Linked DNA regions of Homo sapiens: regions 2 and 3 are each linked to region 1. Evidence: promoter capture Hi-C in 16 types of primary human blood cells and fetal thymus (Javierre and others, 2016). All regions are on one chromosome and are shown on one strand. The core of a region is centred on a gene start or on the middle of the fragment in contact, and the rest is flanking DNA. Distances in the headings are between cores, read along the strand shown. Region 1 holds the start of CLXN (calaxin). Region 2 has its middle 12 kb from the start of SNAI2. Region 3 has its middle 34 kb from the start of SNAI2.

Region 1 (3,857 bases), core at 511-3,010:
ATTTATCCATTGAATCTTGATAGCTTTATTGTCTTGCAACTAAAACAAAATTTAACTTTAGGGGAAAGTTCTTCCGTTAAAGAAAATTTAAAATTATTATAATGTCCATGACGTATAACTATTTCTATAGACTTTAACTAATAATCATCTAAGTTTGTAAGACTCATTGAAAATTTTTTAGTAAACAAAAAAATCAAGAGCAGACTTTTTCCTGCCATATTTTTACTTACCTTTAAAAATATACACTCACCTTTTGATTGTTCACAGAATGATTGTCTGCAATGCATTCAAACTTACCGAACAGAGACTAAATCAAATTCAAACTTACGGAAAGGGACAAAATCAGTATTGTGTATAGCAGCTATTGCATTGTTTTTGAATATTTATCAAAAATGTTTACTAGATGTTTACTAGAAGAATACCTATTCTCCCAGAAATGAAAGTGTTTTAAGAAAAACAATAACAGAACAAAACCCTCATCAGAGTATAGTAGTCATAATAATATCTTAAATTACAGGATTTTTTTCCTAAACATTTTAAGATGCGTACACACACCATAATATTCATTTATATCACCATCCACTAAGAGAGCATTTCTTACCAGGTATTAAATCAGATACTAATGATAATTAGAATGCACTAGATCTTACAATCTCTAAAACTACATCAACATGTTTATTCCTTCTTTTTTGAGCGACTCGGTTATTTGGGGGATTGTTGCTTCTGTTTCTTCAAGTGGCCAGTAGTTTTGCAATTAGCACACACAACTTCTAAGTTTGCTCGACAGGAAATTATCTTCCTCATCTAAACCATACCCACGGCTTCCTTGCTAAAGTGCAATTATGTTTTTCAGTCTGAATATAAACTCAAAGTTTCCTATGAAATTCTAGGACCACCCTTTCAAATGCGAGATTAGAGCAGGTGCCTTCAAATAGGGCTCATCTTGTCACCTGCAAAGTCTCCTTTATCTTTCAACACCAGGGGCCACTGGAAAGTGGGAGTCTAAAGTTGGGAACCCATTCTTTACCACGTGTTTAGTTGTGCTGAACTCTGGTTTCCAAACAAATATTGTTCTGAGGCACAGATGAGATGACACAACTCATCTCTCCGAAAGATGTTGAGAAGTTGAGCACCGTTTTCTCCTATGGGTCTCTTGGTAAGCTTCCAGAACTTGGACCTGCGGGTGTATGTGCGAGCTATAAAGCAGGGTGAGTGCACGGTCTACCTTGGTGGTGCTACTTTTCTTGAGACCAGTTGGTTTTAGCATTTATTTTACACCTCATTGAGGCTAACATCACATGTTTCTATCAGGTAAAAGAAGAGGGTTGGAGAAGCAAGTAAATGCATGTGTGGGAGTGTAGGTAGCACCAGAGGCGGAGGCCTGGGTTCCTAAGATCAAACGCAAGGAGCTGGCACCCCGGGATTCCCTCTCTGACTTCTGCTTAAGGGGCCGGGGTGGAGGGGCGGTAGGTAGCCCACAGAGTCCCAGCAGGCGGGAAGCAGGCACAACAGCGGACCTTAGCACGGGGTGGGACCCAGGCTCGGTCCAGGAGCCTCGGCCTGTCCAGCACTACATTCTTACTTACAATGCTTGCAATTTTTGGTTAAGGTGTCCGTCAGCTTCTGCAGTTTCTTGCGGTTCATGTCTGGCGCTCAGAGAATCGGGCCGCGGCGGGGGTCTCTGGGCGCGCGGCTACCGAGACCCTCGCGGGACCCCCGCGAGCCCTGGTGCTGGGTCAACGCGGTGAGGTCTCAGTTACTGATCTCGTGCGCGGCCCTAACAGACGGTGTAGCCAAGGCAACGGCTCAGCCCGCCGCGGATTGGCTCCCAGGCTGCCCGCGACGTAGCCAAAGCTACAGCTGGGCCCCGCCCATCGGCTCAGCGACTGCTCGCGCTGGGTTCTCGGTGCGCGGTGCCGCCGGCAGGGTCCCAGCTGGCCGCCTTGAGGGCTGTATTCTGACTGTTGACGTTGGAGTTTAAATGTTCAGTTGTTGCTGGCTTTTGAGTTCGCAGCCTCTTTGCTTGATTGCAGTGTAAATCATTAAAATCTGAAATGTGGTGTGCACGCTGTATGAGAGGTGTTTCGGGTCGTGAGCGTCACGCCTCAAGGGAAGGCCCAAGATCTTGGACATCTTGGGGGCTGGAGCAGCGTCACAAAATAGCAAGGTGCTGTCCAGAGGACGATCTTGCCGGGCCTCCCGTCAGAGGGCTAGAAGCTTGCTCTTTGGGCGGAGCCACTGCTTAGGTTTTCAGTCTTGGTGAGGTAACAGGAGGCAGTCTGTCACCTGAGGTCTTCGAGCTTTTAGTTGTGTTTCTGAGAGCAAGGGGAAATTGGAATACAGCCACGGGTTGCCTAAGGAGCGGGACGCGTTCCGAGGTCACTAGGAGATTTCATCACTGTGTGCACATCACGGTGCACCGACACAAACCTAGATGGCCTTGCCTACTGCACGCCAGGCTGTATGGTACAACCCATTGCTTCTGGGCTGCACCCCTGCACAGCAGGTCACAGCGCGGAATGCTGCAGGCAGCTAAAACAGAGTGCTAAGCACTCTGGGGAAGGTGCAGTGTTCCAGTACAGTGTTACATCTTATGGGACCACTGTCCTAATGTTGTCTGATGTTGACTTAAATGGCGCTATGTGGCTTGTGACTGTAGTTTTTTTCTTTTCCCACTGCCCTCATCTCACTTCCAAAAGATGGAGGTTGTCTGTGGAATCTGAGGAAAGCCACGAGGAATTTTTATACTGCTTAAATAGGCATTCCCCCCAATGAAAACGGGCTGACAACACCACTTGGGTGTGGGGTACAGCCCAATCTTGCTTTTCCGGAAAATATCTCAGCAACCTTGGTCCTTTACTTATTTGAAAGACAAGTTCTGTGCCGGCAGACAAAGGATATTCCTTACATCTTCAGGGTGGGAGGACTTTCTGCTTTTCCTGATCACAGAGGGGATATCCTCTTTCAGCTAAGGCAGCAATAAAAAGGGGTGGCTCAGCCAGGATCACCAAATCTACAGTATTCTCCAGAGTGCCTGCTCGTTTAACTTCAGAGGGGAAAATGACAAACTATGTTATTGTACACATACTGGCATTTTTAGACTGAAGGCAGAAAAATTCTACTAACCATGAGTAATAATCCCAAATGAAATAATTCCAATGTCGAGGCCTCTGGTTTTTCTTTACTGTTTCATTTGTTTGTGGAATGAAGGATTGGGATGCTGTTTGAAACTAGAGCAAAGGGTGCTTGGTAAAGGCATGGACTGTGTTATCCTAAAGCAAATGTCCTAACAACAGTTACCCGATATGAATTGATGGTGATTATGAGTTTGTAACAGTAGTATTTTTAAATAGTGTTTCTACATATCCCCTTGTCTAGAAGAGTGAAATTCCTGAGACCATAGAGAACAAAAGGGAAAGACTGGACATATTTGAATTATACTTACCTGTGACACCTTATTGATTTCTGTTGGATCACAGAGCTGTAGCAAATACTTAATTCCTAGAGATTGCTGCACTGCTCACTTCAAGAGACAAGGAACCGAAAGAGTGGTTGTCAGTAATTACTAAGAGACGCTGTGGGCTCCCCACCTGATGTACTAGGCCTGTGTTGGGGAGCAGGCCTGCGCTGTTGGTGAGCACATTGGTGGTTATTTCTGGTGGCCTGGGGAGATCGCATACACCGGGTGCTTGCTATAGGTAAGCTAATTAGTTATTCCTTCACGAGTTTAAGGCCTAGAGCCCATCAGCCATGTTCCCTTAAAGTTAAAAAAATAATAAAAAGATGTAGGGGCAATATCACAGATTGTTGAAATTAAAATATGCCGGGCCAAAACTCCTTAACCTGTTGAGCAAACT
Region 2 (3,857 bases), core at 639-3,138, 170 kb after region 1:
TGTAACATAAACCCAGATAACAGCTAAAGTTCATAAGAAGAGAATAATGACTCAAGCTTTGGGCATAGAATAAGAGATAAATATAAAACTCTGTCCTTTGGGCTTTTAAAAATATTTATTTCTTTTCTGATTTCGTAAGTAGTTTATGTATCCCAATGAGTGTACACATTATGTAATGCACTATAGAGAAGGCAAAATTGTAAAAAGTTTTGTCAAACTCAATGGATGATGAAGAGACATTTGTGTATTTTAGTGGTCTATAAATTGGAGAAACATCATTCTGACTTCTTCAGCTTTTTGCATCATGCTGAATGAGACAATGATAGTACATGCATACTATCTACACACGCAAATCCATGACAATGACATGGCTGATTCTCTGATCATGCCAATGTCAGGTGGTTTTGTATTAAACAATGATGAAGAGCAGGTAGGAGAGACTGATGAGAGAAGAATGAATGCCTCTTTCTAGTAGGCAGGGGTAAGACAATGTTTTCAGTAGGTAAAAAGTACAATTTCAGCTTTCTTCTGAGTGTTAGTGGGTATGGATTGAAAGCCAGGCTCACTTTGGGAAGCCAAGATGGGCGGATCACAAGGTCAGGAGATGGAGACCACCCTGGCTAACATGGTGAAACCCGTCTCTACTAAAAAAATACAAAAAATTAGCCAGGCTTGGTGGCGGGCACCTGTAGTCCCAGCTACTCAGGAGTCTGAGGCAGGAGAATGGCATGAACCCGGGAGGCGGAACTTGCAGTGAGCAGAGATGCACCACTGCACTCCAGCCTGGGCGACAGAGTGAGACTCCGTTTCAAAAAAAAAAAAAAAAGCCAGGCTCAACTTTAAGGAAAAAATAAAATAAAACACCAAGCTCCGCTCCACTGTGCAGGACACCATGGCATGTGCTTGTCATCAGTTCCTCCACTCACCTGGGTCCAGGAATTGTCTCCACCATAGAGCTGATGAGACAGAGAGCAGCTTACCCACCTCATAACATACATGGTAAGGCAGCAACCTGAAACAAGGCCAGTCTGAGGACAGAGCGCTGATCTTCCAACTGCTATGCTGAAATAACAAAACCACTATGGCCTGGATTAGAACATGGTTGCACCAGTTGTTTTTTTAAAAAAACATAGTATATGTATTATATTATATTATATTATATTATGTTATATTATGGTATATTATATTATATATTTGCCCACTGTTATTTCAAACATCCCAAAAGTAATTTCTGAAAGACAATTACAAATGCAGCACTCTTCCTGTTTAAGGTTTTCCAAATTGAAAAGAAGAGAATGGCTGCCTTTGAAATCAATCAGGACACCTCTGTGGAAAATTACCTGGGCTGTTTCATCCTTGGCGTGAGCAGTGGTGGGAGCTGGCATCCCCTGGAGACACACACGCCTGGCCCTGGGTCCAGCCAGCACCCACTGGCAACTCAGCCCTGGAGCTGTTGAGATTTTCCTAAATTGTAAAAAATCTGAAAGTTATGTTTTAGAGTAATCTTTTCTTCTAATTCTTTTTTATTGCCTTTTTATTGCCTCAGGAAAGCAGTAACACAAAAGATCCTTTTACATCTTTTGATTTAAAAAGCAGAATCCAAGAGGGGCTTGTCTGGCTGTGTTCATGGAGAAAAATCTGTAGCTGATCAGTGCTCATCCTCCCAGGAAAAGCCCCATTACAGCAAACAAGTTCATTTATTTTAGCCTAGAACTCAAGAAAATTATTCAAAACCCTGAGATACAAAAAACAAGCCAGATCCTCACTTAATTTAATTTTATAAAGAAACCATCATAGTTATGCAAGCTATAATTTATTTCTTTCATTATGTAAAGGTTTTTCATTATGTAAGGGAGCCCCTACTCCACACCCCTTCCATCCCTGCATATTTTATAGTATATCTTTTCAGCTTGATTTCAAACTCTTTCAAAGCCCCTGTGATGTAGACTCTTTTTTTAAAAAAGGCATTGATAAGGAATTTAAAGTCATTCAAAAAAAAAAAGTTTCTGTTTTTTTCTTTTTTCACTAAAGGGTCTTGTTCAATCCTTCTTTTCACTGACTACCTAACAGTGATTGATTGGCAAATAGTAGGCATGCAATAAATAAGAGGAGAAAGAGAAGGGATTCTGAAGTTGTATAAAACTTGTGATTTACAGCACATCATTAACTACAACAGTAGAGGCTCAGTCCTGGCTCCTAACTTCCCACTCTGTTATTCTCAGAATGTGGTCCCCACACTGGCTGTGCCATCTTCCCCCAGGAGCAGGTTAGAAATGCAGATTCTCAGGTCCATTACAAACCCTCTCACTCAGAAATTGGGGGTGGGACCCAACAATTCCTGCCTTAACACACCCTCTAGCTGATTCCCATGGTCGCTGAAGTTTGATCATCTCGGAGGCAACCCTATCCTTGCTCCTCTGATTTCCTTCCTGCCATGGGTGAGCAACCCATGGCCTCTGGGGCCTCCCTTCTCCTCCTCTCTGGAGGCAACAGGCTGCTTCAAACCATCTAATCTCTGAAGATGGAGGGGGGCCAGGGCTCTACTTCTGACCCCTCAGGCTAAGGCACAGCTGGGATGTGAGCCTCATTCCTGACACAGCGATGGGGAAGTGGGGCCAGTGGTCACTAAGGCTTCATCAGGGATCAGTTGTGTGTTTTAGGCTGGTACTCAGAAGAATGTCTTTATCCCCAAGGACATATAATTTATAGTCACCACCAGAGTTCAGAGCAGCTCTGAAGCCCATACTGGACAAGCACAGGGGGAGGAGGGAAGAAACAGCAGCTCCAGGGCACGATGGTCCTGCAGGCCTCCTCCCACCCACCTCCTGGAAGTCACGACCTGAGGTGGTGGCAGACCTCCTAATAAGCGTAATTATCTATTATTTATTTATCTAATTATCTATTATTTTATTGCATTTTGGACTTGTTTAGGTGTTATGAAATAAAAGCATTTAAAAGAGAGGGAAGAGATGCTTGTCACCAACTTGGAGACAACGATGTCCCCCAACGAAACTTATTTTCAAATTTGCATTAATGTTAATATATAATAAAGGAATAAAATAAAATGACATGAATAAAAGTAATCAGAGAACTGGAGAAAAATGCATCAGGTAACATCCCTTTGGCAAAATTCCAAACATTTAAGAAAAATGATGGTTCCAGCGCAGGACCCGCAGAAGCCGCGCTCTCAGCCGGAATTGCCTCAGATGTTCCAGGCAGAAGCCCAGGAGGCCTCCAGGAACCGCCAGACCGGCAGGAGGAACGTCGAGGTCCAAGGCACAAGTCAGAGGTTCCTGGTCTGCAGGGGCCCAAGGCCTGCGTCACTACGGAGGGTAGCCCTTGAGGCGTGGAAAGAAACCCCATTTAGAAGCGTCACTGCTGAGAGCCCTGCCCAGCCTCTCTGGCCTTCGTGGAGCAGGGCGAGCCAGGGTGTCCAGAAGCCTCTAGTGGAAACCGGAGCAGTACATCGCAGCAGCCCCAGCGCACTATTCTGTGAATCCGGGATCCGGGTGGGGGCCCTGCAGAGCGCGCAGGAGCAGAGGACGCTGGCTTCCGGGGGATCCTGTTTTCAGGCCCCCCGTCCCCATTCCTAGCGGCAAACGTGGAGCGCAGGCACCTTCCAGGCACCCTGCTCTCCCGCTGTGTGCGACTGAAGGCGATACCTTCTATTATCGCCTTTTCTGCTAAATTAAACAAAAAACAGGTTATCACACAATACGGGAAAGCTTTAAACCTCTATAGGTCTGAAGGATGTATGGGCAGAGAAGCTGGAACTCACAAGAAATAGAATTAGCATTCATTTCCTTTGGCCAGAGAAGACATCACTATTTTATTCAATCCAGGCCTTCCCTTTCCAT
Region 3 (3,857 bases), core at 910-3,409, 150 kb after region 1:
AGCACATAGAGCTAGTGCCCTTAATCTAGCTGCTACTCCCTTCCAATGGTTACCAGTTGATAGTCCTCGTTAGGGAGGCAGATCATCTCACAGGAGTCACTTTTTGCATGAGAACCAGCCAGTGGAAGCTCACACATTTCTCCTCAGGAGGAAAACTGAAGGAAAAAGAGGACACAGGTGTGGTGACAGAATGACACACGTCATGCTAGTTGGGAATTTTCTTACCCTGCCTCCACTTCCATCACCTTTTCCTATAAGGTCTTCAGGGATGTTCTTCAGTGCCTCACGCTGGATTTTGCAGAGTCTCAGAACATGAAGGAGGTTTGGAGGCAGCTGCTGCTCTGAAAGACAGAGAAATCGGGCATGCACAACCTGGGCTTGGTAATTTAAACCAAACTCAAGCTTTTTTGCAGATCCTTAGGTCGAATGCTGCCTCTACTTAAAGTTTGATTTTCCATATTATTTTATATGTGTATATGAAAAGAGACCAACCTTATTATATTGACTTTCAATATCACCTAAAAGCCTATTGAACTTTAAAATACCATATAAACAAGTAACCAAGAACATATTTATAATGTTGTCAGCATTGCTCTGATCTATTTAGCATCTACTGTATTCTTGCAGCTTAACATAAAAGTAGCACATTCTTGGAAAGTCTGTCCCTGAAAACCTCATGCAGGTCAGCTTCATATACTGTTCTCCATCACAGTACCTCATTCAGTTTCTTCCTAGCACTTACCTTCATTATCTGAACTTATGTTTTTATTTATTTTTGTCTTTACATTTCTAGTATGTGGCTTCTGCAACTAGGATGTAAGTGCTGTGAGTGTAGGGACATCATTTATCTTTTAACTGCTGTGCCACTGTGCTTTGACCAGTGCCTAACTACAGGAAAACTCAACAATAATTGTTGTTAAATCAATCAATCCATCAATTCACCAACATACACTGCAAGGTTATATTATCCTCATTGAATGGATTAAAATACCGAAGCTCTCAGAAGTGTGGACATTCTGAGGGCTCTTGTCATCTTGAGAAGCTGTTGTGCAAAAGCCAAAGACAGGGTGGGTTACTTACACATTAGCACTGAATAATAAATACGTGCATATTTGTGTAAAATGTTAACTATTTCCCTGTGCTCCTCATGGCCACTTATGTATTATTGTCCCTGATACAGTCTCAAAGCCCAAAGTTTTGAACTTTGCAACCAAATTATCCTATTTCTTATCCAGTCCTGATGTCAGCAGTTTGAAGATCCATAGGAAATAGGGACTTTCAGCAGGAAGTCCTCTAGCCATGCATTGATCTTCCCTGAAGATTCTACCCCCTGGCTTACATCAGTGATCATTGCCTTGTACCTGAGATACAGCTTCCTTGGCTTTCTGGAAAATGTTTGTTGTAGACTGTATTTTCCAGTGGTGCTCACAGTAATATTTCCCATCTTATAGGCTTCTTTACAATGTGACCTTGGCATTCTTTCCGTGGAGAGTGAGATCTTCCTATGTTCCTCCTGTGAATCTGGGCAAGGTTTAGGTTGTTCCGACTATAGCATATGGTTGAAGTGGCACCAAGTGAGTTTTTAGGATAGATCATAGAAGGCCGTGCAGTTGAATCCTAGGCATTGAAATAATGAAAGAAAGCAATATGAAAACGTGGGCATTGCCCCAGGGTACTCCCTTGTAGTTTGCTTCTGCATACTTATTCCCCTGACATAAAGCTGTTATTACTACTATGGGAATGACCACTCTGCTCTCTTTGTTAATTAAATTAAATTAAATTAAGTTAAATGTGGATGGAACATTTGACAGGTAGCCAGAATCAAGTGCTTTCTTGCTATACCACATGTTTATAGAGTCTGCAGAAGGATACTCCAGATGAGGGACAGTGCAAAACTGTTTCTAAGAATATGCAGAAGATAAGTCATGACAGAGAAAGCCTCTTTCTCTTAGTTCTCTCTTTTTCTCTCATTTTCCATCTCCTCTTCTCTCCTTTTCCCCCTCTTTTCCAATATTGATGGTCCATTCTGTGCTTCCACTTCGATCTTAATTGCGATAAAAATGCATTTTTCTTATTTTCTCTGCTTTCTTCTGCTTACTCTTTAATCTTAAATACAGGTGTACCTCAGAGATATTGTGGGTTAAGTTCCAGACCATGACAATAAAGTGAATATTGCAATAAAATGCATCACACAATTTTTTGGTTTCCAGGAGCAAATAAAAGTTATGCTTCCACTCTACTATAGACTATTAAGTGTGCAGCTGTACCACGTCTAAAAACAGTATATACCTAATTAAAAACACTTTATTGCTAAAAAATGATAACAATCATCTCAGCCTTCAGTAAGTTGTCATCTTTTTGCTGGTGGAGGGTCTTGCCTCAATGTTGATGGCTGCTGATTGGTCACAGTAGGGATTGCTGAAGGCTGGGATGGCTATGACAATTTCTTTTAAAAAGACAACAATAAAGTTTGATGCAACTGGAGTCAATTCTCTCAAGCCCTGCTTCTGCTTTATCAACTAAGTTTATGAAATATTCTAAATCCTCTGTTGTCTTTTCAGCAGTGTTCACTGCATCTTCACCCAGAATAGCTTCCCTCTCAAGAAACCACTTTATTTGCTCATCCATTCAAGTTTCATCACAAGATTGCAGCAAGATGTGTGTGTGTGTGTCTCTGTGTGTGTGTGTGTGTGTATGTATAGGCTGTAAGCTGTGTTTATTATGAATCCCCTTCCAATACACTGTGCTAGGTAATCTCAGTGGGCTGGTCGTGAACACCACGAGGTCGGTGTGAATGTCAGAACTTAGTGTGGAGCTTAGCAGTGCTATATACGTTACTATATAAGTGGTACTGCTGAACTTCAAACTAAGTTCCAATTACAATGAATGACCACTTTCTTTATCCTGCTTAGGCATTTTCATTGACTAATACTTTGCACAACTATTGATTTAGTGAGGCCAGTTTTTGATGACCGTGAGCAAAGCACAGATTAGAGTAGAATCTGAATGTCTGCTTCCCGGCCTTGTCCATATAGCAGAATGTCACTCTCTTGCTAACCCCTGCATCCGTCTTATCTTCTGGCTCTTGGATCGCAGTTTTGGCTCTGTTGCCATTATCATCTCAAGTGTCTCCCTTGGGATCGTCTGCCATTGGGATCCTCTGTTCTGGCTGAACAGTCTGTCCTCGTGCCCTCTCCTCAGAGATGCCCTTTAGTGCTGCTACACCCTGGGTGGAGTTCCCTGCCCTGCATCCTCTCCTGACTCACTGGTTCCACCTCTGTTCTTCTGTTTTTTCACTTTTTTCCAGCTTCTCTATCTTATCCTAATGTAGCTTTGCTCACCAGTTTAAAACTAATTCAGAAAGTAATGTTCCCTGGGATACTGAAACAAACACACAAAAGGACTTTATGAAATACCCATTAAAAAGTAGCAACAATTTCTCTAATTCAAGCATAGTTCATTGAGCTATGAATGAACATGATCATAAGTCACATCATGATCTGTGACTTATATAACTTATGTTGTTACTAGTACAAAGCTATCAGTTTGAAATTTCCTAGAAAATGTTATTTCATTTGACTTATCATTACCCAGCAACACATAAACTTCAAATTATAGGCCTATTCACTCTACAAAATTGCCATGTCACATCCATGGCCAATGGCTGAAAACAGCTCTCAGAATTCCTGCAGTAATTTTAATTTTAACTTCTTAGCATTTGTGAAGCATATTTGCTTTAATCATTTGATGTGAAAACTGGGAGAAGAGCTATCACAGCAAGAATTCGACATTGCATCTGTCCTTCACAGAGCTTTTTCCACCAGAGATGCGGCATAAACATATCTGGGTGAGCAAAA

What was found. The method cuts DNA at HindIII sites, captures the fragments that hold promoters and counts their contacts. A CHiCAGO score of 5 or more calls a contact.
Region 2: a contact is called between a fragment that was not itself captured here and the fragment with the promoter of CLXN in region 1, in 2 of 17 cell types (M2 macrophages and M0 macrophages). The highest score is 7.1, in M2 macrophages.
Region 3: a fragment that was not itself captured here is called in contact with the fragment with the promoter of CLXN in region 1 in 2 of 17 cell types (M0 macrophages and M2 macrophages); the score reaches 7.4 in M0 macrophages.

What each region holds. Positions count from the first base shown.
Region 1 is chr8:48,733,508-48,737,364 of GRCh38, forward strand. CLXN (calaxin) reads right to left here and starts at 1,761. Exons shown (of 6, transcript NM_024593.4): 1 at 1,587-1,761. The coding sequence starts at 1,644. RefSeq lists an enhancer at 1,166-1,840. The HindIII fragment of the contact is 1,056 bases long and covers 1,160-2,215 here.
Region 2 is chr8:48,907,331-48,911,187 of GRCh38, forward strand. No RefSeq gene overlaps it. Among named protein-coding and RNA genes, the nearest start is that of SNAI2, 12 kb to the right of the region's middle. The HindIII fragment of the contact is 3,669 bases long and covers 55-3,723 here.
Region 3 is chr8:48,885,131-48,888,987 of GRCh38, forward strand. No RefSeq gene overlaps it. Among named protein-coding and RNA genes, the nearest start is that of SNAI2, 34 kb to the right of the region's middle. The HindIII fragment of the contact is 3,519 bases long and covers 401-3,857 here.